5 separate regions of the Homo sapiens genome follow, and regions 1, 3, 4 and 5 are each linked to region 2. The links are contacts of gene promoters, found by promoter capture Hi-C in blood cells and fetal thymus (Javierre and others, 2016). All regions are on one chromosome and are shown on one strand. The core of a region is centred on a gene start or on the middle of the fragment in contact, and the rest is flanking DNA. Distances in the headings are between cores, read along the strand shown. Region 1 holds the start of CMTM1 (CKLF like MARVEL transmembrane domain containing 1). Region 2 holds the start of CA7 (carbonic anhydrase 7). Region 3 overlaps BEAN1 (brain expressed associated with NEDD4 1). Region 4 overlaps CDH5 (cadherin 5). Region 5 overlaps PHAF1 (phagophore assembly factor 1).

What was found. The method cuts DNA at HindIII sites, captures the fragments that hold promoters and counts their contacts. A CHiCAGO score of 5 or more calls a contact.
Region 1: a fragment that was not itself captured here is called in contact with the fragment with the promoter of CA7 in region 2 in 1 of 17 cell types (endothelial precursors); the score reaches 5.7 in endothelial precursors.
Region 3: a fragment that was not itself captured here is called in contact with the fragment with the promoter of CA7 in region 2 in 7 of 17 cell types (M0 macrophages, fetal thymus, total B cells and 4 more); the score reaches 8.2 in M0 macrophages.
Region 4: a contact is called between a fragment that was not itself captured here and the fragment with the promoter of CA7 in region 2, in 5 of 17 cell types (M0 macrophages, total B cells, neutrophils and 2 more). The highest score is 7.5, in M0 macrophages.
Region 5: a contact is called between a fragment that was not itself captured here and the fragment with the promoter of CA7 in region 2, in 1 of 17 cell types (erythroblasts). The highest score is 5.8, in erythroblasts.

Annotation. Positions count from the first base shown.
Region 1 is chr16:66,566,305-66,571,135 of GRCh38, reverse strand. The region is part of intron 2 of CKLF-CMTM1 (CKLF-CMTM1 readthrough); the gene reads right to left. CMTM1 (CKLF like MARVEL transmembrane domain containing 1) reads right to left here and starts at 4,697. Exons shown (of 4, transcript NM_052999.4): 1 at 4,191-4,697; 2 at 1,042-1,200. The coding sequence starts at 4,622. The HindIII fragment of the contact is 1,104 bases long and covers 1,009-2,112 here.
Region 2 is chr16:66,841,144-66,846,108 of GRCh38, reverse strand. It overlaps CA7 (carbonic anhydrase 7), which reads right to left and starts at 1,695. Exons shown (of 7, transcript NM_005182.3): 1 at 1,582-1,695. The coding sequence starts at 1,621. LOC124903699 (a long non-coding RNA gene) reads left to right here. Exons shown (of 4, transcript XR_007065088.1): 4 at 4,287-4,676. RefSeq lists an enhancer at 1,266-1,767. The HindIII fragment of the contact is 7,096 bases long and covers 1-2,151 here.
Region 3 is chr16:66,448,436-66,453,667 of GRCh38, reverse strand. All of the region lies in intron 2 of BEAN1 (brain expressed associated with NEDD4 1), which reads right to left. It also overlaps the pseudogene LOC107984807. Among named protein-coding and RNA genes, the nearest start is that of BEAN1, 24 kb to the right of the region's middle. The HindIII fragment of the contact is 1,650 bases long and covers 474-2,123 here.
Region 4 is chr16:66,393,009-66,398,244 of GRCh38, reverse strand. CDH5 (cadherin 5) reads right to left here. Exons shown (of 12, transcript NM_001795.5): 8 at 2,044-2,186; 9 at 139-263. Among named protein-coding and RNA genes, the nearest start is that of LINC00920, 13 kb to the left of the region's middle. The HindIII fragment of the contact is 9,921 bases long and covers 1-5,236 here.
Region 5 is chr16:67,135,209-67,140,082 of GRCh38, reverse strand. It overlaps PHAF1 (phagophore assembly factor 1), which reads right to left. Exons shown (of 16, transcript NM_025187.5): 9 at 1-99. Among named protein-coding and RNA genes, the nearest start is that of B3GNT9, 13 kb to the left of the region's middle. The HindIII fragment of the contact is 3,425 bases long and covers 1,704-4,874 here.

The DNA of each region.
Region 1 (4,831 bases), core at 311-2,810, 270 kb after region 2:
TGTGGGACAGAGAGAGCTCAGCAGCCTTTGAGAAAATCTCTCACAGATTTGAAGACAATGTTTGAGTTTTAGCTCAAAAGGAACATTCTGACTTTAAGGTTAGAAAAATGTTCTATAAGGAAGTGGGATGTGGAAGAGGCCTAAGCTCTGAATTAGGATTGTTCACAGCGCAAGACAGAATGGCAAACGCCACCCAGCTATCTGATGGGTCTGATGGGTGGCTGTTCTTTTTGGACATTAGAATATTTAATTTGTGTCACATACTATGTTATTGGCTTTGCACACATTTAAATGTTTCAGGAACCCTATGAGGTAGTTATTATCATACTTTTCCTTCTCTGTATTTCTTAAATGGGGAAACTGAGGCTAAAGGTTACATAGCTAGTAAGGTGGCAGGACCAGAATCTGGGCCTATGGCTGCCTCTGGACAAAACCGTACTGCCTCTCTAGTCTGAGACCTGAGGGGTTAGCTTTAGCAATTGTTCAGTTGGCAAAGAATGTGAAAGTCTGGGAAAAGCTATTAAAGAAGGCTCTGTAATGTCTTTTTCTGGATAGTCCGGCACCTCTTTGTGATATGGACCCTAACACACACACACAGGTTGACTACAATCTTTAAGTGTATGCACGGCAATTTTCTACAATGCCATCATATCAACTTTTGCTTTTGGGGAGAATGTTTATAATCAGAGTGCTCTCTGCAAAGTAGAAGCATGCACTGTTGTACAAGCAATGGCTGAGAAATGTGCTTACCTACTTTATATACTAAGTATATATATTTTTTTAGGACAAGCTGAAAAGTACCATGTGTCTAGTGCCATAATGAGGGGTTTTACACTCAGGGCTGGAGCAGCGGTGTGTTGGCTGTCCTGCAGGCACAAGGGTTCAAGGAATCCTTCTGGACCAGGGCAACACCCTAACTGTCACAGCTCAGCTATGTCCTTGTCTAGAGAGATAGCTCCGTTGTTTTCACTTAAGGAGAGCCCTTACTCTGGGGCTGAGGGCAAAGCTTGGATTTGAAGAATTGTAAAAATGAACACTTACAAGTAAGGGCCAATGTAAATAGGTCAGCAAGTGGTGAAGGGTTAGCACATATATTAGAATAAAAAAAACGACAATGCAGATTTCCAGACTTGTGATTGTTATAAATGACTCATTGGCTTGGGTGATGATGAAACAAGCTAATGCTCCTAAGATAAGACTCTGCAATAAAAGAAACAGGATTTGTTTTAATGCATGATTTAAAAAAATCTACATTGTCAGAATGTAAATCTGATTATATCACAGTACAGTGGCCTGTATTGTTTTGCACATACATTTTTAACATTTCTTACATTTTGAAGAAATGAAATACATGAAAATAATAAAAAAAGCACACAGTATAGAAGGATAAAATAATACCAATTTCTTTCTCTTCCCCCAACCCAACCTTAGTCTCTCTCCTTAAAAGTAACCACTATTAACAGTTTATATTTCATACTAGAAAGAAGTCTGTATATATACTGGTAAAGTACATATACATTGATTTTGGTAGAAACAGTGAGGAAGAGCCTCAGTTTTCTTTCTTTCCAAACAGCTGCTGATTATCTCAACATCATTTATTGGGAAATGCCAGTATTATCCCTATTGATCTGAAATCCAACCTTTATTGTATACTAAATTCTCAGATGTAGTTCGGTCTCTTGAGACTGTTCTCTTCCATTGAATTGGTGCTTCCTTCTCTAGTACTCTAAGTTATAGACAATTCACTCTATACTGAGTTATTGTTTCACCTAGTCTTCCTCTTCTTACTCATTCTCAGACTGTTTATGTCTCCCATGTTTGTGTTGGTCAAGTTCCCCAGACTAAGCCTGTTGGCATTTTAGTTGGGATTTCTAAATGAAATACTTACTTATAATTTGGAAAAATTACAGAATTTAGTTTTTCTCAAGAACAAAATATATCTTTCCAGTTATTTTAGTGGTTTTTAAAAAATATCTCTCAGGAGAGTTTTAAAGTTTTCTTCCCATATGTGTATCACATTTCACTTATTTTTAGATATTTGATCATTTTTGATGACTGTTGTAAACAGAAATATTTTCTTATATTTTAAGTGGTTATTTGTCTAGGAAAGCTTTTATTTATTAACACAATAACGAGTCACCTGACTAAATCATCTTGCTCTAAATTGTTTCCAGTTGATTTGTTTTTTTCTAGATATGCAATTACATTAGCTGAAAGAAAGCATATATTTTACCTCCTTTTTTTTTTTTTTTGAGACAGTCTTGCTCTGTCGCTCAGGCTGGAGTGCAGTGGTGTGATCTCAGCTCACTGCAACCTCTGCTTCCTGGGTTCGAACAATTCTCCTGCCGCAGCCTCCCGAGTAGCTGGGACTACAGGCGCGTGTCACTAAGACTGGCTAATTTTTGAATTTTTAGTAGAGACGGGGTTTCACCATATTGGCCAGGCTGGTCTTGAACTCCTGACTGAGGTTATCTGCCTACCTTGGCCTCCCAAAGTGCTGGGATTACAGATGTGAGTCACTGCGCCTGGCCACCTCTTTTCAAATATTATTTCCCATTCCTAATTATGATGACTAGTGGTTTCAGAAAAAATTGACTCATGGTGTAGGCATCATTTTTCCCCTCATTTAATAAATAATACTTCTGATATTTAATTAAATATGCTGACTCTTAGTTTGAAATGTTTATTTTTACAATGTCAATGGAATATTTATATACTCCTATCTTACTGGTCTCCCTTCTTGGCAATCAGGGACAAATGTTGAATTTTGTCACATGTTCTGTGACATAATCTCCTAATTTTTTATAATGTGATAGATATAATCTCATTTTCACTTTTACTTCTAATACAGTGAATTATTTTAATAGAATCTTAATATTGAATCATCCTGTTTCTTTCTTGTGGTATTGTATTTTCAAAAAATACTGATGAATATTATCTGCTAATAGATTGACATTTTGTTCTGATGCAAGTGAGATCTCTACTTCGTTTTCTTTTTCTGAACTCAGTCAAGTTTTCCTATCAGTATTATACTGATTGTGTAAAGATAGTTCAGAAGTTATTTCTTCTTTCTCTATTCTTTGACAAAGTTAGAGTAGTGTCAGAATTATATCCCATGAAGGCTTGAAAGAGTTAACTTGTAAAAAGGTCTGGGCCTGATACATTTTTGAAAGATACTCATTTGCTAAAATTCTCATTTTCTTCTATGTTTATATTGCCCTGTTTAGATTTTTCCCTATTCTGGGATCAGTTTTGGTGATTTACATTATTCTGGAAAATCAACCATTTCATCCAATTATTCACATCTATTTTGCAAGGTACTCCTGTAGATCCTTTCAGTTTTGCTGATGTTTGTGATTATTTTCCCCTTCTGGTTTCTAATTTTAAATATATGTCTTTTCTTCCCCCTTTTTTTCTTGGTTGGCCAATGGCTTATCAATTTAATAGGACTTTCAAACGACAGCTCTTGTATTGACTGATTCTATTATTTTTGTTTCCTAACTTATAAATTCCTATTATCTTCATTGCTTCCCTAATTTCCTTTGTGAGAGGAAACTGAACCAACCCAAATGTCCATCAATGATAGACTGGATAAAGAAAATGTGGCACATATACACCATGGAATACTATGCAGCCATAAAAAAGGATGAGTTCATGTCCTTTGCGGGGACATGGATGAAGCTGGAAACCATTATTCTCAGCAAACTAACGCAAGAACAGAAAACCAAACACTGCATGTTCTCACTCATAAGTGAGAGTTGAACAACGAGAACACATGGACACAGGGAGGGGAACATCACACACTGGGGCCTGTAGGGAGTGGGGGACTAGGGGAGGGATAGCATTAGGAGAAATACCTAATGTAGGTGACGAGTTGATGGGTGCAGCAAACCACCATGGCGCGTATATACCTATGTAACAAAACTGCACGTTCTACACATGTACCCCGTAAGTTAAAGTATAATAAAAAAAAAAAAAAAAGAAAAAATAGGGAAAAAAAGAGGCAAGTTTAGTAGGAAAGGTTTAGTGTGTGGGGAGCAGGGGGTGGTGGGGAGGAAAGGTGAGGCAAAACAAAGGTGAGTGGCAAAGTGAATTATGGAAGGTTTCTGGAGCTGGCACCCCGTGGGCATTTCCCCGAGGCCACTGCCGGCCACATCCGCCCAGCTAGGTCTCACCAGCTCTCCGCTCACCAGTCTCAGGATCTTCAACATTCCAGTGGGCGAGAAGGAGAAACGTTTGAGGCTGTCCCTGAATTTGTACGGGACTTTGGCTCGGCCCTCCACGCGCTCTTTGATCGCCATCTCATTTAAGAGTTTGGATTCAGTGTGTGCAGAGGGCGTGGGGGGTGGGAGTGTGGGCTTTGGGGGTGGGCGTGTGGTGGCTTTCCTTGAGGGTGCGGTGCCCTCACTGCCTTGGGGACGTGCGGCGGCTGCGGACTGCGCACTGCGAATTGAGACTGCGGGGTGCTTCCGGGGTGCGGTCTTCGCTGAGATGTTGCGCTGTGCCTTGGGTACAGAACTCACTACGCTGCCGCTACTTGCCAGGGCTGCGGCAGTCTCCGGTTGTTTCAAGTTCCCTGAAGGTGCCTCGGATGACTCAGGTTTGGCGTGTTCAGGATCCATGGTGGGTCCCTAGGGCCTGGCCGTCTGAACCAGTGCCGCGGCAGCGGCTGGCTCTCCCCTGGGAACCAGCGTCGCGTCCCAACGGCTGTTGGCTACCTCCCCGGCGCGTGCACCCGGCTCTCGCTGCCCCACCGACAAGCCGAGCCCTTCAGCCACCCTCATTGCCACAGGGGGTGCAATGCCACCGCCTAGCCCGAGAACTCAAAATC
Region 2 (4,965 bases), core at 446-2,945:
AGCATCTCCCTGGGGAACATCCTGAGATGCAGCCTATTTTTAGAGCTACTGCCGGCTGGTGCTTCTCCCCCTTTTTGGCTTCTTAAGTTTTCCTGAGAAAACAGCAGCAGGTGCCGACAGAGCCGTGTCCCCAATGGATGACTCAGAATCGTGGCCCGGCCCCTCTGGGTTATTTTTGAAGCCCTGTGAACACTGCTGCATGCCGGCACCTCTGTCCTCTGTCCTTCCCTTCCTCGACTGGACAATCCAGCTCTGCCTGGGTGATGGGGTGGCTGCTTTGGGGGAGCAGGCCCATGGAGCAGGCTACACAGGACACTGGGTGCTCAGAGCTGGTGGGCATGACTAGCAAGAAGAGCTGGAGGCAGGGGACTCTGGCTCTGGGGGAAGCACCCAAAAGGTGGCTCAGAGCAGGTGCTGGGAGAAGATGATCCCTATGGGTCCTGTCCATCTGCCCCATGTCTGCCTGTCTCTCCCTCTCTGCTTGTCTATATCATCTTTTTCTGAATGTCTCTTTCCAGCTCTTGCATACCCAGATCTGGGGGTTCTCTTCCAAAATATGCTCCTTTGTTCTTGGGGCCCCAGAGGGAGCCAAAGACTCCACAGCACCCTCCCTCTGGTCTACTGCAACTTTCTGGCTTCCCAGACTGTGGTCCCCCACCCAACCTCACAAAGTGACTGCCTCTCCGCAGAGGAGTGGGGCTGGGGGATGTTCCTCCCATCATTACTTTTTCTTCTCCGCACCCCACCTGTCTTGCACTGGCTCCCCAGGGAAATAGGGAACCCCTTACCCCACACCCCCACCCCTGCTTGGTAAGAAATGGCCCCAAAGGGAATTGACTGCCCCAGACCCACACTCCAGCCGTCTGGCTCTCACCTTCTGCCTCTTCTCCCTTTCTCTGAGTCCTAAGGAAACTGAGGCAGGATGAAGGAGCTCTCTTCCGCGTCAGCCCAGGAGGCTGGTGTGGGCCACGGGCTCCCACGACTCACACCCGGACGTGCGCAAACACCCTGCTCGGTGTAGACACCCAGACACATGCTTGCGCCCCCAAGTGCCCCCTTCCCTCACGTACCGGCCGAGAAGGCAGCTCGGCCACTTCTGCGGGGAAATTCTCTCCGGGGGACACTGCGCCCTTGCCACGCGGAGCCCCGCTCCCCCGAGGTCCCCGCTCACTTGCCGTGCGCGCTCCCCGCAGACACCCGCGCACAGCGCTCCGCGGCGCCCGCCCCCCGCTGCCCTGGGCCACCCCCACGCGCTGCGCACGCCCGGGGCGAGTGAGTGAGAGTCTGGGCCTGGGTCTGAGCGGGCTGGGCAATCAGGGGCTTCGCGGAGGAGGCGGCAGGACACAGCCGCCAGGTCGCTTGCTGGCGGCGGGGCCACCCGGGGCGCAGCGCGGACTTTGCGTCTGGCGCGGGGGACCAAGGCTTGGGCCAAGTTCGGGGGCCGGGATGGGAAGAGGGGTCCCGCCCAGCCTGGAGTGTGGGAGCTTTCCGGTCTGGGAAACCAGCTGGGCAAGAGGGTTGGGGCGAGTGCAGTTGGGTCGGGGGTCCGAGCCAGAGGCGGTGGGGGAGGTCTGTGCCTACCGTCGTCCTGGCCGTAGCCCCAGCCGTGGTGGCCGGTCATGCCGCTGCCGTCCCCGCAGCCGTGCACCTGCCCGGTCGGCTCGGTCCGCTCGTTCGGGCTGCGGCTCCGGCCCCGCTCGCTACCGCGGAGCAGCCTCTTAAAGCAGCGGCTGGCGGGAGGAGCAGTTCCCGGGGGACCCGCCCCCCACCCCCCAGCAGGGCCAGAGAGGCCGGCCTGCCCCGCCCTCGCCCGCCGGCGAGCCAGTTGAACCCCGAGCGGAGATTCAGGGCAGGAGGAAGTAACCCTCTCCCCCCAACTCCCACCCCTGCCCTGGCTGGGCGACTATCCCTCTTTTTCCCCCAGCAACCCGTGCGGACTCTGGGACACTAGATGCCCGTGCCGCACATGGCGTCCCTTCCCTAGGCTTGCCCCAGACCTGCAAATGCCACCACCAGAGACCTGAGCTCTGGGTCCTGAATCTTTTGGGGTTGGAAAGTCCCCTTTAAACTGCAAACTACACTGACCATCAAGTGTCCAAAACTGGAGCTTCCACTGTTTGCCAGAGGCTGTTGCAGGCGCTGGACCAAGCTTTGGGTCCTTCCTATGGTATAACCCTCTCTGTTACCCTACAAGGTTGGGTGCTTCCATCAGCCCTATCTGACAGAGGAGGGGAGTGAGGCCCAGAGAAGTGAAGTGACTTGCCCAAGGTCATCTAGCCAGGGGGTAAAGGGTTCATTAGCTGGGGTTCTTACTCCAGACACTGGGGGTTTTGTGGGATTTGTTTGTTTGTTTGTTTGTTTGCTTGTTTGTTTTTAGACAGAGTCTTGCTCTGTCACCCAGGCTGGTGCTATATCAGCTCACTGCAACCTCCACCTCCTTGATTCAAGTGATTCTTCTGCTTCAGCCTTCCAAGTAGCTGGGATTACAGGTGTGTGCCACCACATCCAGCTAATTTTTGTGTTTTTTGTAGAGATGGGGGTTTCACCATGTTGCCTGGGCTGGTCTTGAACTTCTGGCCTCAAGTAATCCACCCGCCTTGGCCTCCCAAAGTGTTGGGATTAGAGGAGTGAGCCACCACTCCTGGCCTGACACTGGGGTCTTTACCATTTCTCCTTGGTGCTGGGTACAAGGGTGTGCTGTGAGTGTGGGGGTCCGGGAACCCTGGGGTAGATGCAGGGACAGGAATGGCAATGTGAACCCTTGGCCCAGGTGGAACCAGATCCCCCAAGGGGGAGTGAGAAGGAGTGGCATCAACCAATGGGCCTGAAGACAGGCAGACACCAGGTGGCTTCCCCATGGAGCTAAGTCTGAGGCTCTGACTTCCACCCTCCCTGTTATTTTGTCTACTGCTTCCTCCTTTCTTCAGGGACTCTGCTTTGTCCCTCCATAGCCTGCTGTTTGTCCCTCCTCTCCTGACCTCCCCATAACCTTCAGTACACCCCCTGGGAGCTCAGACCCTCCACCCTGCACTCAACCCCAGTGCCTGCCTTGGCCCAGTATTTTCCCACCCACGAGCCCTGGTCGTTGTTGTGCCCTCCACCTGGTGCGTCCTCTGTCTTCCACCCACTGGCTCCAGCCGGCCCAATCTGATTCATCTTAGCACGTGGCCTTGTGCCAGGGAGAGGGCTTGTCTCTGGCTAGTCCTCAGCAGGCAGTTTTGGAAAGACAAACAGAGGGGTGGATGGAAGGACAGATAAATGATCCCACCCGGGGTCCTGTACTCAGCAGGAGTCGAACAGCCACTAGTACAATGTCTGCTGTCCAGATCTTGAATAGAGACACTCTTTCAGGCCCTGCTCTTGGCTGACCTTGTACAGGAATCTGCCATCTTGTCTGCCTGGCTCCCCTTCATCTCTGTGTCTGTCTCAGTTTCCCTCTCCCAGGCCCTGAACCCCAGATCCTCAGATAGAGCTATGGAGATTAATTGATAACTGGTTGGGTGGGCCAATGTCAGTGACTGCCCAGGCCTGCGAAGATGGCCCTCTCTGATCCAGGAGCAGGAAGGGATCCTTAATATAAATATGACCCTAGGGTGGGGCAGGGGACTTATGACAGAGATAAGTAGCCCCCAAGACCAGATGTGACAGAGAATCCAACACTGTCAAGGCCCCAGGTCTCCAAGCTGGAAATGGCATCTACAGATCAAGAAGACAAAGGCATGCTTCTGGGTGAGGCCTGGACCTTCTGTCTCCCAGAGAAGCCAGCCACCCTTTACCTGGGAGAGCTGCCAACATCCTTTACCTGGGAGAGAGCTCTGGGGATAGCCCAAACTCCATTGACCCATTTCCTCTTCAGAGGGACTCAGGTCTTTTTCATATTTATTTGTAGTTCTTAAAAGATACAACTGGGCCTGGCACAGTAGCTCATGCCTGTAATCCCAGCACTTTGGGAGGCTGAGGCGGGCGGATTACCTGAGCTCAGAAGTTGAAGACCATCCTGGGCAACATGGTGACATCCCGTCTCCACTAAAATACAAAAAATTAGCCAGGCATGGTGGCAGGTGCCTGTAGTCCCAGCTACTCGGGAGGCTGAGGCATGAGAATTGCTTGAGTCCAGGAGGCGGAGGTTGCAGCGAGCCAAGATTGCACCACTGCACTCCAGCTTGGGCTACAGAGTGAGATTCTGTGTCAAAAAAAAAAAAGATACAATTGGAATTCTTCATATAGTTTTGCATCCAACTTCATCTACATAGTAACCCTGGGGGGATTTTTACCCCATTTTACAGATGAGAAAAGCAAAGCTCAAGAGAGGATGAGTGATGGGCTCGAAGATGCACAGTGAGTGACTGAACAAAGATGAAAACCCAGGGCTGCTGGGTCCCTCGTTCAATATTGTCCAAAATCACTGGAAAGGGAGGAAGCGGATTTTAAATTTGACTCTCATTTGTGTGTGTATGCAAGTCCTCTCTAAAAGGACTTAGGAGAAGCTAGGGAGAGTGTTTACCTACAGGGAGGAGACTGGACACCGGAAGGTTGTGGAAGGTTGTGGAAGGGTGTGGTATGGCGTGGGAAGGACACTCTTTACTGGTACTCCTTTGTATCTCTTGAATGAATTAAGGCATGTATTACCTCTTTAACAACCAAATAAAAGTTGATCCAGTTCTTTCCTTCCTGCAGCCTGTCTTCAGCATTTTCTCTGGGTACTGGGAACTCAGGAAAGTGAGAGGAGACAATGGAGACTGCCCTTCTAAGGTGAAGCGCCAGCTGCCCCAGCAACCCACTCAGGTCAACTTGGGGGAGCCTGTGCCTCCATTCAGGTGCCTCCAGTCTCAATTACATGCTGTTTTTAAAGCCGAGTTGATTTCTCTGCTTGAGAGTTTTCTCTTTGGTCTCACTGGTGTCAGTGGCTCCTGGTTTTTGCTATTTATATGGGAGGGGAAAATGGGGGATGTGAGGGCTGTGATG
Region 3 (5,232 bases), core at 49-2,548, 390 kb after region 2:
ATTTTAGGCTAGGCACTGTGGCTCATGCCTGTAATCCCAACACTTTGGGAGGTCAAGGTGGGAGGATTGCCTTAGCCCAGGAGTTTGACACCAGCTTGGGCAACATAGTGAGATCCTGTATATACAAAAAAATAATAAAAAGTTAGCCGGGTATGGTGGTGCATGCCTATAGTCCCAGCTACTTGGGAGGCTGAAGTGGGAGGACTGCTTGAGCCCAGGAGTTCAAGGTTACAGTGAGCTATGATTGCACCACTGCACTCCAGCCTTTTGAAGCCTTTGTCTTCAGAAAACAAAACAATGTGTGTGTGTGTGTGTGTGTGTGTGTATAACAGAATGAAAAAAAACACAACATAGTATCAAAATTTATGGAATTCAGCTAAAGCAATGCTTAGTGGGAAATTCATAGCTTTAAATACTTATATTAGAAAAGAAGAAAGGAAAAGAAGAAAGGCCTCGACTTGAAAACCTAAGCTTTCATGTTAAGAAACTAGAAAAAGAGTAAACAAAACCCAAAGCAAGTAGAGGAAGGAAATAATAAAGATGAGAGCAGAAATCAACGAACTAGAAAACAGAAAAGCAACACAGAATATCAATGAAACCAAAAGTTGTTTTTTTGAAAAGATAAAATTTACAAATCTTAGCAGCTTTATGAGGTAGGTGCTAGTAATCTGATTTAATAGATGAGGGTACTGAGGCTCAGGAAGGTGAAGTGACTTGCCCAAGATCGCAAAGACAATTTTTAGTTGGGGGGAGGGAGACAGGATTTGAACCTGGTTCTGACTCCATAGACCAGGGAATAATATGATATCCTCTCTCCATCCTGGGGAGCTGTGTGTCCCTTCGTTACTCTGGGGCCGTACAGTTGGGCATTGGGGTAAGTGAGTCTGCCACGTGAGGTGCCATGAGGATTGGGAAACCCAGCTATGAAGCAAACCATCTCTAAACCCCATCCTCCTTTTCTCTACACTCTGGAATGTCTGTCCTGCAAAAAGCGTCTAGAAATTTCCCCAATAAACACTCACCTGACAACGCACTCAGATTCCTGGTCTCCCCACAGATCCCTTCGCCAAACACCCATGAGGGATTCTGGTGCCACCTGACCTCTGTAAATGTCACACTGGATGGGCATGCTTTTGCCAACTCCTTTAGGCCTTTCTGGTGGGACAGCAATTATGGCTCCTTCACTGTTCACCATGCTGCCCAGGCCCAAAGCCAGAGGCCTACAAAAGGCATGGCCCTGTGGTTTTCGATTCTGGAGCACATTAAAGGTGATAGGATTTTGTCCTCTGATCCTCAGAGATTCCTTCATTTCCCAGAATTTACAAGGGCATTTGGAAAACCAGCATCAGGGTAGCAGTGTATTAAAATTAGTATACTAGGGCTTATTCCAGAAATGCAAGGATGATTTAAGATCAGGAAATCTATTAGCATAGTATGTTACTTCAGTAGGCAGGACGAGAGAAACCAGTAGAATAGGAAAAGACAGTTACCTCTTTGCCATGATAGATCCTGATGATCTCAACTGACTGCCAACATCACACTAAACCATGGAGCTTTGGAGTAGTTTCCCAGCATGAGGTTCATGGCATGTGGATTCCAAAAAACATTATGGGGCATTTGGGGAGAAGTTCTTTATCCCCCACTCCCCATCAGATTGCTTTGCAGGCCTGAGCTATTTTGAGAATCAAACCAGTCCCAGTCCCAGGCCTTGTGTTCACCAACGTTTAGTATCCTGAGAAGGTAAGCAGCTCTAGGGTCTCTGGAAAAGGATCATCCTTCAGCCACCTTCCTTGGGCAGCCAAAGTCCCGAGTTCCTTTGCTGGAGCTGACCTGCTTCTTGGACTAGGACAGAACTCTGGTTAAATAAGACACAGACAATCCTGGGTTCAAGTCCTGGCACTGCCTCTTGCTGGCAGTGCCCACTGAGCAAGTCAGATCTCTAAGCCTCTATTGCCTCATCTGTAAAATGGGAGCAGCAATTTCGGCTATGAGCTAATCAAAGCAAACTGCCTAGCAGGATGCCTGGCTCATAATAGGTGCCCAATACATGACAATCAAATATTCAAAATTTAAAGACATTCCCTAGACTCAGAACTAAATGTGAAAGACAAAAGAGTAAAGCTTGAAGTGGAAAACATCAGAGAACATCTTCATGACCTTGCATTTCTTAAACAGGACACAGAAGATACTAACCATTTAAAAATGGATACATTGGACTATATTAAAATAAAAAAACTTTGGTTGGAGTTTGGGTTGCAAAGTGGTGGAGGGCTGAGGGCCTGCACAGGGACTGAGGCATCCAGGGTCAAGGTCAAGGTCATGGCTGGAACAAGTGAAAGATTTTGAAAGAAGATTCTCTAAATATATTCATCATTTGCAACCTGCCCCAGGACACTGGAGAATGTTTCTCATGGAGGGATCTGTCTGTACTGGTGCCTGGGAGTGGTTAATAGATCCCGAGACAAAAGAGTTCCTTCTTCACGTCTTTATGGAATCATCCATTTTTTCATGATTAGCTTTTCACTCTAATAGGTTTGTTCTTTGCTGGATGCACAAGAGGTAGTTGCACCATCAATTACAGCAGTTCAGTGTCAAACAGTATTAACAGAGTATAATATGTCTGGTGATGATACTGGAAAACTAATTTTGAAACCTAGGCCTTGTGTTCAATGAGGGGGCCTAAAACAGCCTTTCTTCAAATAAGTGATAAGTGAAAAGCCCCCACAGGATTCCTTTTCAGTTCAAAATATGCAAGCCACAGCAGCTGCTGAATGGAAATGTGTGATATTTACCTAGACTGTCTTTTAATGATGACTCATATTATCAGTGCTTTTGATACCTCTGCTCACCTATGCTTCAGTGTAGGTGTCCCTTGAATACTTCTCATCCTGCAAAGATTTTTTCTTTTTCTTTTCTTTCTTTCTTTCTTTTTTGATTTTTGAGACAGGGTCTTCTTGCTCTGTCACCCAGGCTGGAGCCTGGAGTACAGTGGCACAATCATAGCTCACTGCCGCCTTGAACTCCTATGCTCAAGCGATCCTCCTGCCTTTGCCTTCCAAGTAGCTGGGACTATAGGTGTGTACCACCACACCTGGCTAATCTTAAAATTTTGTTTGTATACACAGGGTCTTGCTATGTTGCCCAAGCTGGTCTCAAACTCCTGGCCTCAAGCGATCCTCCCGTTTCGGCCTCCCAAAGTGCTGGGATTACAGGTATGAGCCACCCCATCCAGACCCATCCTGCAAAGATTTTTGCAGTAGTAGAAGTATAGGTCTTGGTTATTGCAGTACACTTAGAAACAGACCCTCATTCAGCCTTTGTATGTTTTTTTCAGTCTGTTCTAAATCAAAGCCAATCAAAGCCAATGTCAGACAAAGGGAAAGTGCTGTGAGCACCTATGTTCTCCTGCATGTGTTTCATCAGCTTGCCATCCCCACGGCTCTCGTAATAAGACAATCGTGTAGAGCTGGGGCTTTCATTCTTGCACAGTGAAAAATAAGCCCCACTGCAGGAGAAACCCTGGATGTGCTAAGATTGAGCTAAAATTGATATTGAAATGATATGTAAACATTTGTTAAGTCAGATACTGAACTTCAGCCACTCTTGTGGTTACACTATTTAGTTCAGTGTTTTTATTTAATGCTTAGGATAATTTCTAGTTTGAAGGAATTTAAAGAGCACTTCCCAGGTTTCTGAATATACAAATTCAGTAATAAATTACATAATGTCTGGGAATTTGATCATCATATTATTTTAGATAATTGGATCTTACACTTGGTAGACACGCCAGCACACTAGTATTGCAGGTGTAATTGATCATCCTACTCCCTCACAAGAATAATATGGGAGCAATGCCACAGTGCTCTATTCTCACTGTTTAGAGTGTGTTGGTGACATATTGCGTGTGTATAATAGCCACACATACTCATAATAGTCCTTGAACTATTGGGATCACTGCTGATATTTTAAAGCATTGGAGGTACCTTTTATCTTGAAAAAATATAATCTTTTTGAAAAACTTTAAATTGTTTCATTAGTGATTTTTTTTTTTTTTTTTTTTTGAGATGGAGTCTCACTCTGCCACCCAGACTGGAGTGCAGTGGTGCGATACCGGCTCACTGCAACATCTGCCTCCTGGGTTCAAGAGATTCTCCTGCCTCAGCCTCCTGAGTAGCTGGGATTACAGGCATGCACCACCATGCCCACCTAATTTTGTATATTTAGTAGAGACGGGGTTTCTCCATGTTAGCCAGGCTGATCTCGAACTCCCGATCTCAGGTGATCTGCCCGCATTGGTCTCCCAAAGTGCTGGGATTACAGGTGTGAGCCACTGCACCCGGCCCATGAATGATCTTTTAAATTTTAGTTAACTTAAAATCTGAATTGTTTTTTTGAGACAAGGTCTTGCTCTGTTGCCCAGGCTGGAGCGCAGTGGTGCACTCACATGGGTGAATCTCACAACATAATACTGAGCAAAAGTAGCCAGACCTGAAAGAAAACATACAACTCCATATATATAAAATTCAAAAATAAGCAAAACTAATTTACGGTGACAAAAGTCAAGTTAATGTTTACCCTTGACATGGGATAGTGACTGGGAGGACACATCAGGGGAGTTCTAAGATGCAAGTAAGGATGTGTTTATCTTCTTCTTTTTTGAGACAGGGTCTCACTCTGTTACCCAGGCTGGAGTACAGTGGCAAGATTGTAGCTCACTGAAGCCTTGAACTCCTGGACACTAGCAATCCTCCTGCCTTAGCCTCCCAAAGTGTTGGGATTACAGGCAGTGAGCCACTGTGCCTGGCCAAGGATGTGTTTCTTTTCTTTCTTTCTTTTTCTTTTCTTTTTTTTGAGACAGAGTCTCGTTCTGTTGCCCGAGTGCAGTGGCACGATCTCGGCTCACCGCAACCTCTGCCTCCTGGGTTCAAGAGATTCTCCTGCCTCTGCCTCCCAAGTAGCTGGGACTACAGGCATCCGCCACCACACCCAGCTACTTTTTGTATTTTTTAGTAGAGACGAGGTTTTGCCATGTTGGCCAGGCTGGTCTTGAACTCCTGACCTCAGATGATCTGCCTGCCTCAGCCTCCCAAAGTGCTGGGATTACAGGTGTGAGCCACCGCACCCAGCCGTGTTTTTTGATATGAATGTGTTCAGTTTGTGAACATTCCTTGAGCTTGCACTGATGGTTGGTGCACCTTTCTGTATGTATGCTATATTTAGTGGTATGCTGGC
Region 4 (5,236 bases), core at 2,655-5,154, 450 kb after region 2:
CATCTGTAAAATGGGCATAATGTTATTTTCCTCAAGGCTATTGTACAGGGGAACTCCTGCTGACTCTGTTGAGCAGTTCTGCCCCCCAGCCTGCCCCAGGGTGGTGCTGCCTTCCCCTCCCACCTGAACCAGACTCACCTGGCCATGGACAGCGTTCTCACACACTTTGGGCTGGTAGGGCTTGGCAAACTCCGGGGCATTGTCATTCTCATCCAAAACTTCAATGTGGACTTGCACAATGGATTCTTTTCCTGTGGGGGTTCCTGCAGGGGAGAAGACTGTCACCATTATGGGCTCAGCTGATGCTGGCCTTGGGCGGTGGAAGATGTGTGGAAGGAGGGCTGCCCTATGGAGGCCACTTTTTGCAGGAGGAGGCTGTGGAACAGAGGCCCAGGATGGTGTTCTGGATAAAAGGAGTTTGGTGGGGGGAGGTGTTAAATCTCATCCATAAGGTTTACTGAGGTATTACTTTGATTATGAGAATCAAAAAGGTAAACCACCTAAGTGCATTAAAAAAATTGTAATTAAATTCCTAAAATTAAAAATTTAATTATTTGATTAAATACATAAAACATAATAAATTAATCATAAAAGAATTGAAAAGGTAAACAACCTAAGTGAGATTGGGTCAGTAAACTAGGCTACCGGAAAAGACTGAAATGGATGGCCACTGACAATGCCTATGTCACTTACATCTTAAACATATAATTAAAAAAAATTTTAAGGCCAGGTGCTGTGGCTCACCCCTGTAATTTCATACTTTGAAAGGCCTAGAAGGGAGGATTGCTTGGGGCCCAGAGTTGGAGACAAGCCTGGGAAACATGGTGAGACCCCATCTCTACAAAAAAAATTAAGACATTTGCTGGGCAATGTGGTGCACGCCTGTAGTCCCAGCTGCTCAGGAGGCTGAGGTGGGAGGATCATTTGAACTCAGGAATTAGAGGCTGCAGTGAGCTGTGATCGTGCCACTGCACTTCATCCTGGACAACAGAGTGAGACCCTGTTTCTCTCTTAAAAAAAAAATTAGTACCATGAGAAAGTGGTTCTGGAATAAGGTTAAGTAAAGGTTAAGTAAAAATGTGGAATATAATATCTTACACAAACATTACAATCTCATGTAAGTATAAAAATATGTATAAAAATAAAAATACATGAATGTGCTAATAGTAACTGTCTCTGCATGGTGGCATTGGTGGGAGGAGTATTTTCTTCTCATTTTCTGTATTTTCCGTATTTTAAACCATTTAAATGTAAAGAGTCTATGAATGGGATTATGTGGAGGAGAAAGAAGCAAAGACTGATCTGGCCAAACATGCAGGAGTCCATTACAGTTTGGGGCAGCAGCTGTGTTGGCAGAAGTGAGTCTGGGTGGGCCCGGCAGGCGCCAGGGATCCTTGGCCTAGCGGGCTCCTGGGTAAAGTGGGAGTATTAATAGTTCTCCTGGAGGGTGATTGTGATTTTCTAATATAGATAGAGGATGCAAAACTCCAACTCTTGCCCCTCCCTCTGGCAAAAATTACACAATTTCTAGAGAAACTCACAATCTCAAAATTGGAAGCTGCTTCACATTTTGAATTCTACCTATTAACTGGTGCATAAACACCCTCTGAAGGAACATTTCCCAAACAGCCATGATAACTAAGAATCATGGGACCCTTGTTAAATGCACATCTCTGGCTCACTGGACCAGAACCTGCAGGGTGGAGTAGAGCTTTATGCTTAATAGGTGACTTGGGTGATTCTCGTCACAGAGACATCTGCACAGCCTGTTTCATGACAGTGGTTTTCAAACTGTGACATGCATGAGATTCCGATTCAGTGTGGGGGTGAGGCCCGAGATGCAACAAGGTCTCAGGGGATGTTGATACTGCTGGGTTCAAGGACCACACTTGGGCATGGGAGCTCTATAGCATCCCAACCAGCGGGTGCTTCAGCAGGCACTTCTAATACGTCTAGAGACCCCAAATTATTGATTATGCCAGTTTTGGAAGAATGAGGGAAAAGGAAAAGAATCCAGGTGCCCTGGCAGATGTGGCCACTCACCAGTGGAATCCAGTTCTTTGGCCTCCACAGTCAGGTTATACCAGGGGTAGACTTCTCTGTCCAGTTCTTTCTCATTGTAAATGTCCCCCTTTTTTGTGACTCGGAAGAACTGGCCCTTGTCACTGGTCCTGCGGATGGAGTATCTGCCCAGGGGAGAGAGTTTCATGGCTTTCCATTGTTCTTTGCTGAGTCTACACTCCTCAGCATGATGGACAAGGCCCTTCTGCATCTGTCCCCTGCATCCCACTCCATGCCCCTCTCTCACTGCTCATTGCACTCTGCCACTCAGACAAGAGTGGACCTACACAGAGGGATTCAGGATAGCAAGATAATGTCTTTGATCTTAGTTACATTGCCATCACTGGACTGGAGGTGGTACCTGAGACCATCAGATGCACTTTCAGAGCTGAACAGGTGACATCACACCATAGCTGGGACTTGTTTTAGTGATTAATGAAAAGATCATTGGGCAAGAGCCAGGAAGGAATACAAAAAGAGCTGGAAGAGATAAGAAGTAATTACAAAGAAATTAACTTTGTGAAATAAAAAACTTAAAAAGTTCTTTCAGAAATCAGGAAAAATCTATGGAAAGATAAATATATATGTTTTGTGTATATAGGAATAATAGTTGCTATTAATGAGGAAAATCCCAGAACAAACAGAACAGAAGAAATAACAAAAAAAAAAAAAAAAAAAAAGAAAAGAAAAGTTTCCTGATCTGAAGAAAGGCTTGAGTCTACACATTATAAGATGTCATTGACATCAGGCATCATTGAAAAAAACCCCAATACTTAGGCAAATCCTGACGACACTTACGAATTTCAAGGCTGTGTGAAGAAACTGAAAAGAGTCCAGACAGAAAGAAATAATTTCCTTATGAGGAAAGAAAAATCAGATTTGCCTCAGATGCCCCCACAAAATTAAATACTAGAATACATTGATAGTATTTTTGAAGGGAAGTGTTTATAATCTGAGGATTATACGAATACATCTAGGTGTTATTAGAAGGCAAGGTTGGGCATGGTGGCTCACATCTGTAATTTGAGTGCTTTGGGAGAGGCTGAAGCTGGAGGTTTGCTTGAGGCCAGGAGTTCAAGACCAGCCCAGCCCAGGTGACAGAGTGAGACCCTGTCTCACCAAAAAAAAAAAAAAAAAAAAAAAAAAAAAAAAAAAAAAAAAAAAAGATTAGCCTGGTGTGGTGGTGTGTGCCTGTAGTCCCAGATACTCAGAGGCTGAGGTGGGAGGGTTGCTTCAGCCTAGATGTTCAAGGCTGTAGTGAGCTATGGTTGTGCCACTGCACTCTAGCCTGGGTGACAGAGGAAGAACCTGTCCCCCCCACCCCCCAAAAAAGGCAAAGAACTAAGATATTTGTGTCCTGAATTTTTTTTTGAAAACTTACTGTATCTAACTAAACATCTCAATATAAAGTAAAAACCTGGCATGGGAAGAATTAAAACAAAACTATTGATTTTTTTTATCATACATAGAAAAGCAATGGGTGTGTGTATGTCTATAATAGTTTTAACTAGAAAATATAGGTCCAAGAAAACATTTTAAATTTTGCAGATAGAAGTAAATCTCACTGGTAGAAATAAAAATGGATGCACCTCATCCAAATATCTAGGAGAAAAAAAAAATAAAGAAACATAGACTGTATAGCAAAGATGAGGAAAAAGAAAAAAGCCATTAAATTTGATAAATGAGAAATGTAAAACAAGATAAAAGAAGGAACATCAAACATATCAATTATGATGAAAAATGTAAATAGGTTAAACACAAAGCATTTCAGTTTAGATTAAAAAGCAAAGCCAAATGCATTCTTGTTTTCAAGAGACAACTTAATGCCAAATGACCTGGAAAAATTAAAAGTAAAGGTTGTAAAATTTGCATTAGGCGTATATGAATAACATGAAAACAGGACTAACAAATGTAACATCAGGAAACAGAATTAAAGGCAAAATATTTAAGCAGAACAAATTGGCTAATTACATTTGGATGAAAGTTACAAACCATAATGAAGGTAAAATAGTTGCAAACCTTTGTTAACTGAATAGAAAAATTTAAATACATAAAGTCAAAACTTAGATATTCTAGGAAGAAGTGGACACAAATACAATTGTATCACATCACAGAACAAGCTAAAGCAAAACAAAAAAAACACCCTATGACTTATAAATGAAAATAAAGAAATCAAGTCAATCTCTTAAATAAACCCTTGGATCAAAGGAGAAACAAAAATTATAATTACAGGCTATTTAGAAAAGAATGGCAATGAAGAGTAGTCCCAAAACTTAGGATATGAGGCCAAAATGGAAGAACATATTTTGTCCTTAATAAGAAGACTTAATACCCTTGAAACATTAGCTATACCAAAATTAATATATAAACACTAGAATTCTAATGTTTAAAAAACCTGGATACAAAATTTTAAATTTCACAAAAGAAAAAATGAGAGTTGACAAAAAATTATATCAAATAAAAAAGCAACATGGGAAGGACTTTTATGTATATCTAAGATCTAGTGTAAAGCTATATGGTTTGGATCTGTGTCCCCACCGAATCTCATGTTGAAATGTAATCCCCAGTGTTGGAGGTGGGCCCTGGTGGGAGGTGGATAGACCATGGGACAGAGTTCTCATGAATGGGTTAGCTCCATCCCCTAGGTTCTGTTCTCAAGCTAGTGAGTTATCATGAGACCAGGTTGTTGAAAAGTGTGTAACAACTCCCTTCCCACTCCTGTTCTGGCCGTGTAAGACGTGCCTGCTTCCCCAGGACTGTAAGTTTTCTGAGGCCTCCCCAGAAGGAGAAGCCACTATACTTCCTGTTAAACCTCTTTTCTTTATAAATTACCCAGTCTTAACTATTTCTTTATAGGAGAATGGACTTATACAAGCTAGTAGAATAAAACAGAATAGCTTTGCTATAGAATGATGGATAGGACAGAGAATTAGAAGTAGATACAGGTATATACAGAAAACTTAGTATATAATGAAGGTGGGAAAACGATGACTTATTATTATAATATTTAGTAAATGGTGCTGGCAAAATCAGCTATGCATCTACAATAAAATAAGATTGAATTGAATTTATACTTACTATTGCATATTATATGGCTCTAAAAAGTATCTGTTGGAACTATATCATTTTTTTCTAAAGATTGTAAAAGAGAAATTTAGTTAAGATAGAAGAGCAA
Region 5 (4,874 bases), core at 2,167-4,666, 290 kb before region 2:
AGCCAAGCATGCTAAGAACATCTTGGCAGGAATCACCAAAATACACTGAACGTTCAAATACCCGCATCTTGGCATCTGCTAATAGGCCAGGTCCACAACCTGCAAAAAACAAGACAGAGAGGTTGTCAGGTTATGGTTAGGACCAGAGACCCTCTCTGGGGGCCCCAGAGAAGCTACTGGCTGCATGCTACATTATTAGGTCTGGCAAGGGGCAAGACTGCATGCAATCAGAAACATCAGGTCACCAGGGCTTAAGACTGTACAAGAGATCGCTATTCAAAATAATGCCAGGGACTTATTCAATCCCCCACATGTGACATGAAGCTCTGGATACTTCATTCACTTATTCATTCACTACTTTATTGCCTACCATGGGCTAGGACATTGTGCTAGATGTTGAAGAAACAAAAGTGAACAAAAACAGTGCAGTTTCTGGCCAGACGTGGTGGCTCACGCCTATAATCCCAGCACTTTGGGAGGCCAAGGCGGATGGGTTGTTTGAGCTCAGAGTTTGACACCAGCCTGGGCAACATGGTGATACTCCGTCTCTACAAAAACATACAAAAATTAGCTGGGCATGGTGGTGGGTGTCTGTAGTCCCATCTACTTGGAAGGGTGAGGTGGGAGGATCACTTGAGCCCAGGAGGCAGAGGTTGCAGTGAGCCAAGATCACACCACTGCACTCTAGCCTGGGTGACAGACTGAGACAGTCTCAAAAAAAAAAAAAAAAAAAAAAAAAGGCAGTGCTGTTTTTTCTCCATAAGCTCCATCACTGGAGCTTATGTGTGCTGGAGAAGACCTTAATCAGATCATCACACAACTATGGTAAGATGCAAGGATTTATGTTAAGAGGTACTTCTTGGCCGGGTGTGGTGGCTCTTGCCTATGATCCCAGCACTTTGGGAGGCCAAGCGGGGTGAACTGCTTGAGCTCAGGCGTTCAAGACCAGCCTGGGCAACATGGTGAAACCCTGGCTCTACAAAATATAATATAAAAATTAGCCAGGCGTGGTGGCACACTCCTGCAGTCCTAGCTACTTGGGAGGCTAAGGTGGGAGGATCACTTGAGCCCAGGAGGCAGAGACTGCAGTGAGCTAAGATCACACCACTGCATTCCAGCCTGGGTGACAGAGTGAGACACTGTCTTAAAAAAAAACTACAAAAGTACTCTCAATGGTAACCCCTAACCAGAGACACTGAACCTGTAAAACTGCTCTATCAACAAGTAGAGTGAAGCATGCATTACTTGTCTCCCTAATTCTACACAAACACCTGACAGAGCCCTCCAACCCAGACAAGAGCCATTATCACTCAAAAGGGACAAACCAGCTAAGTGGAGGAATAAAAGACCTTCTGATTTGCCAAAAGTTTATTCTTTGGGAAGAATCTTTAAGCTCTGACTTTTTCTAATAAAACATTTCAGAAATGATTACAGTTAATGACACACACACAAACACACAAATGTAGAAGTGGTTGTGGCACAGTAATAGATACACCAACAGTAAAAATTTCCCCATTTTGTGGAGGGGGAGACAAGGTTTTTGCTCCCACCACCCAGCAAAAAAAAAAAGGAAGCCAAGAATCTGAGAAGGATTGTAATTCTTGGTGCCATGATAATCACTGACACCATCTTACTCAGCACAAGGCTTTACAGTTGTCAAAGTTCTCTCATGTGTAACAATCCATTTTTTATATGCAGAAGCTTCAGAGAACCCAAATCTGAAATAACTAAATACTGAGTTCAACTAACCCAAGAATCTCTATTCTCAGCAAGTATACACTGAGGGGGAAATAAAGGCTTAGGCAAGCCTTGGGTGACCTATAGAACCCACCAAAAGTCCTGTCAAGCTGGACTCTGGGCCCAAAGTATCCAGTGGCCTAACACATTTCTTCAGGCACCAGATACGTGTGGATGTCAGATGGGGGCTGTAAGGAAGGCACCCTTCAAAGGTAAGTCTTCTGTCTCCCTCTGCTTGAAGTATATCCAGGTATAATTACTAAGAGTTTCAGCTACTTTTTAGATTGTGATTCCCCAAAGTGTATCTTTCTACAAATTATTGTGGAGACCAGATGGCTGAACTGACTCCCTGCATTAAAAGCATCACTGCAGCCATATTCCATAAGGAAGGATATGAGAAATGAGTGGGTTGAGAAACTTGTGCTTGCCACAGGAAACTCTCAGTGAAGACGATAACCCTTTGAGGCCCTGACTTAACAAATCATTTGCCCTGCTGACAGTGTAAGCAGTGAGCAGTGTGACTGCTGGGAATGTGCTGTACAAGGTGGCAGACATAATTGGCTGAGAGCCCACCCTCGACAGGCTCCTCCTGCTGTCTCCTGGGATGATTAATGACCCTGATCCTTGACCACCCTGCTGTTTCAAGCAGTGATCCTCTTGGGAAAAAACCACACTAAATCACTTGACTTTGCTGCCACATCTCAATTCTCTCAAAAACTATAGCTCAGGCTGGGTGCGGTGGCTCACACCTGTAATCCCAGCACTTTGGGAGGTTGAGGCGGGCGGATCACTTGATGTCAGGAGTTTGAGACCAGCCTGGTCAATATGGTGAAACCCCATCTCTACTAAAAATACAGAAATTAGCCTGGCGTGGTGGCACACGTCTGTAATCCCAGATACTTGGGAGGCTGAGGCATGAGAATCGCTTTAACCCAGGAGGCAGAGGTTGCAGTGAGCTGAGATCACACCACTGCACTCTAGCCTGGACAACACAGCAAGACTCTGTCAAAAAACAACAACAACAAAAAACCCCAAAACCATAGCTTAAGCATGACACTCCTTTAAGTGGTTGTTCTGTCTTGGCTAGAAAATCACATTTTAAGAAATTCGTAACGTGAAGGTTGTGAACTGTCTAACTGTTCACAGAAGTGGGCTCAGAGTTCATATACCAGATTCTTTTTTTTTTTTTTTGAGAAGGAGTCTTGCTCTGTCGCTCAGGCTGGAGCGCGGTGGCGCTATCTCGGCTCACTGCAAGCTCCACCTCCTGGGTTCACGCCATTCTCCTGCCTCAGCCTCCCGAGTAGCTGGAACTACAGGCGCCTGCCACCATGCCTGGCTAATTTTTTCTATTTTTTAGTAGAGATGGGGTTTCACCGTTAGTCAGGATGGTCTCAATCTCCTGACCTCGTGATCCGCCCACCTCGGCCTCCCAAAGTGCTGGGATTATAGGCGTGAGCCACTGTGTCCAGCCTATATACCAGATTCTTAATAATTAAGAACCATTTGGGAGGCTGAGGTGGGACGACCGCTTAAGGCTAGGAGTTTGAGACCAGCCTGGGCAACATAGGGAGACCACGTGTCTACAAAAAAATAGAATTAGCTGGGTGTGGTGGTGTGCACCTGTAGTCCCAGTTTCTTCGGAGGCTGAGGCAGAAGGATTCCTTGTGCCCAGGAGTTCAAGGCTGCACTTAGCTATGATGATGCCACTGCATTCCAGCCTGGGTGACAGAGGGAGACCATGTCTCAAAGAAAGAAAAAAGAAGCAAAAAAAAAAAAAAAAAAAAAAAAAAAGGAATCAATGCCTCAGAGACTGATGCAGGAACCCAATTTACGAATAAATGCTGGTTAGGCAATGAGCTCCACGAAGGTTCTCAGCTCTCTTTATGGGAACAAACTCCACGCTGAAGCTCCCAGTCCCGTTAAGCACGATCCACAACCCAAAGCAGCTGAAGTTGGCCAGGCATGGGAATGTCACAAAATGAGGCATGGATCCTGGAGGGACCAGCTACTGAAGGTGGCACTCTTTTTTTTTTTTTTCTGTGAGAAGGAGTTTCGCTCTTGTTGCCCAGGCTCCAGTGCAATGGCGCTATCTCAGCTCACTGCAACCTCCGCCTCCTGAGTTCAAGCGATTCTCCTGTCTCAGCCTCCTGAGTAGCTGGGAGTACAGGCGTGCTTTACCACGCCCAGCTAATTTTTGTATTTTTAGCAGAGATGGGGTTTCATCATATTGGTCAGGCTGGTCTTGAACTCCTGACCTCAGGTAATCCACCCGCTTTGGCCTCCCAAAGTGCTGGGATTACAGGCATGAGCCACTGCACCCGGCCAACTATTTCTTTTTGTTGTTGTTGTTCATGGTTGGCAAAACTCTGGCCAAGGTGTGGCCAAACCACAATTCAACAAGTCCCGTCTGCTTGCCTACGTTGAGAACTTGGCATAAAGGGTAGAAAAAGGAGAGCCAGGCATGGTGGTGCGTGCCTGTAGCCTAGTCAGGAGGTTAAGGCAGGATTGCTTGAGCCCAGGAGTTCAAGGCCACAGTATTCCAATGCACACCGGCCTGGATAATATAGGGAGAAAAGCTGGGTGTAGCGGCTTGCACCTGTAATACCAGCACTTTGGAAAGCCAAGGAGGGAGGATCGATTGAGCCCAGGAGTTCAAGATCATTCTGGGTAACACAGCAAGACCCATCTCCACATAGACAAAAATTAACTGGGCATGGTAGCACATGCCTGTGGTCCTAGCTACTTGGGAGGCTTAGGTGAGATCACTTGAGCCCAGGAGTTTTGAGGCTGCAGTGAGCTATGATTGCACCACTGCACTACAGCCTGGATGACAGAATGAGGCCATCTCTTACAAAACAAAACAAAACAAAACAAAAAAAGGTAGAAAAAAGGGGAGAGCTGGCCAGGTGCGGTGGCTCACGCCTGTAATCCCAGCACTTTGGGAGGCCGAGGTGGGCGGATCATGAGGTCAGGAGTTCCAGACCAGCCTGAACAACATGGTGAAACCCTGTCTCTACTAAAAATACAAAAATTAGCCGGGTGTGCTAATGCGTGCCTGTAATCCCAGCTACTTGGGAGGCTGAGGCAGGAGAATCACTTGAACCTGGGAGGCAGAGGGTGCAGTAAGCTGAGATCGT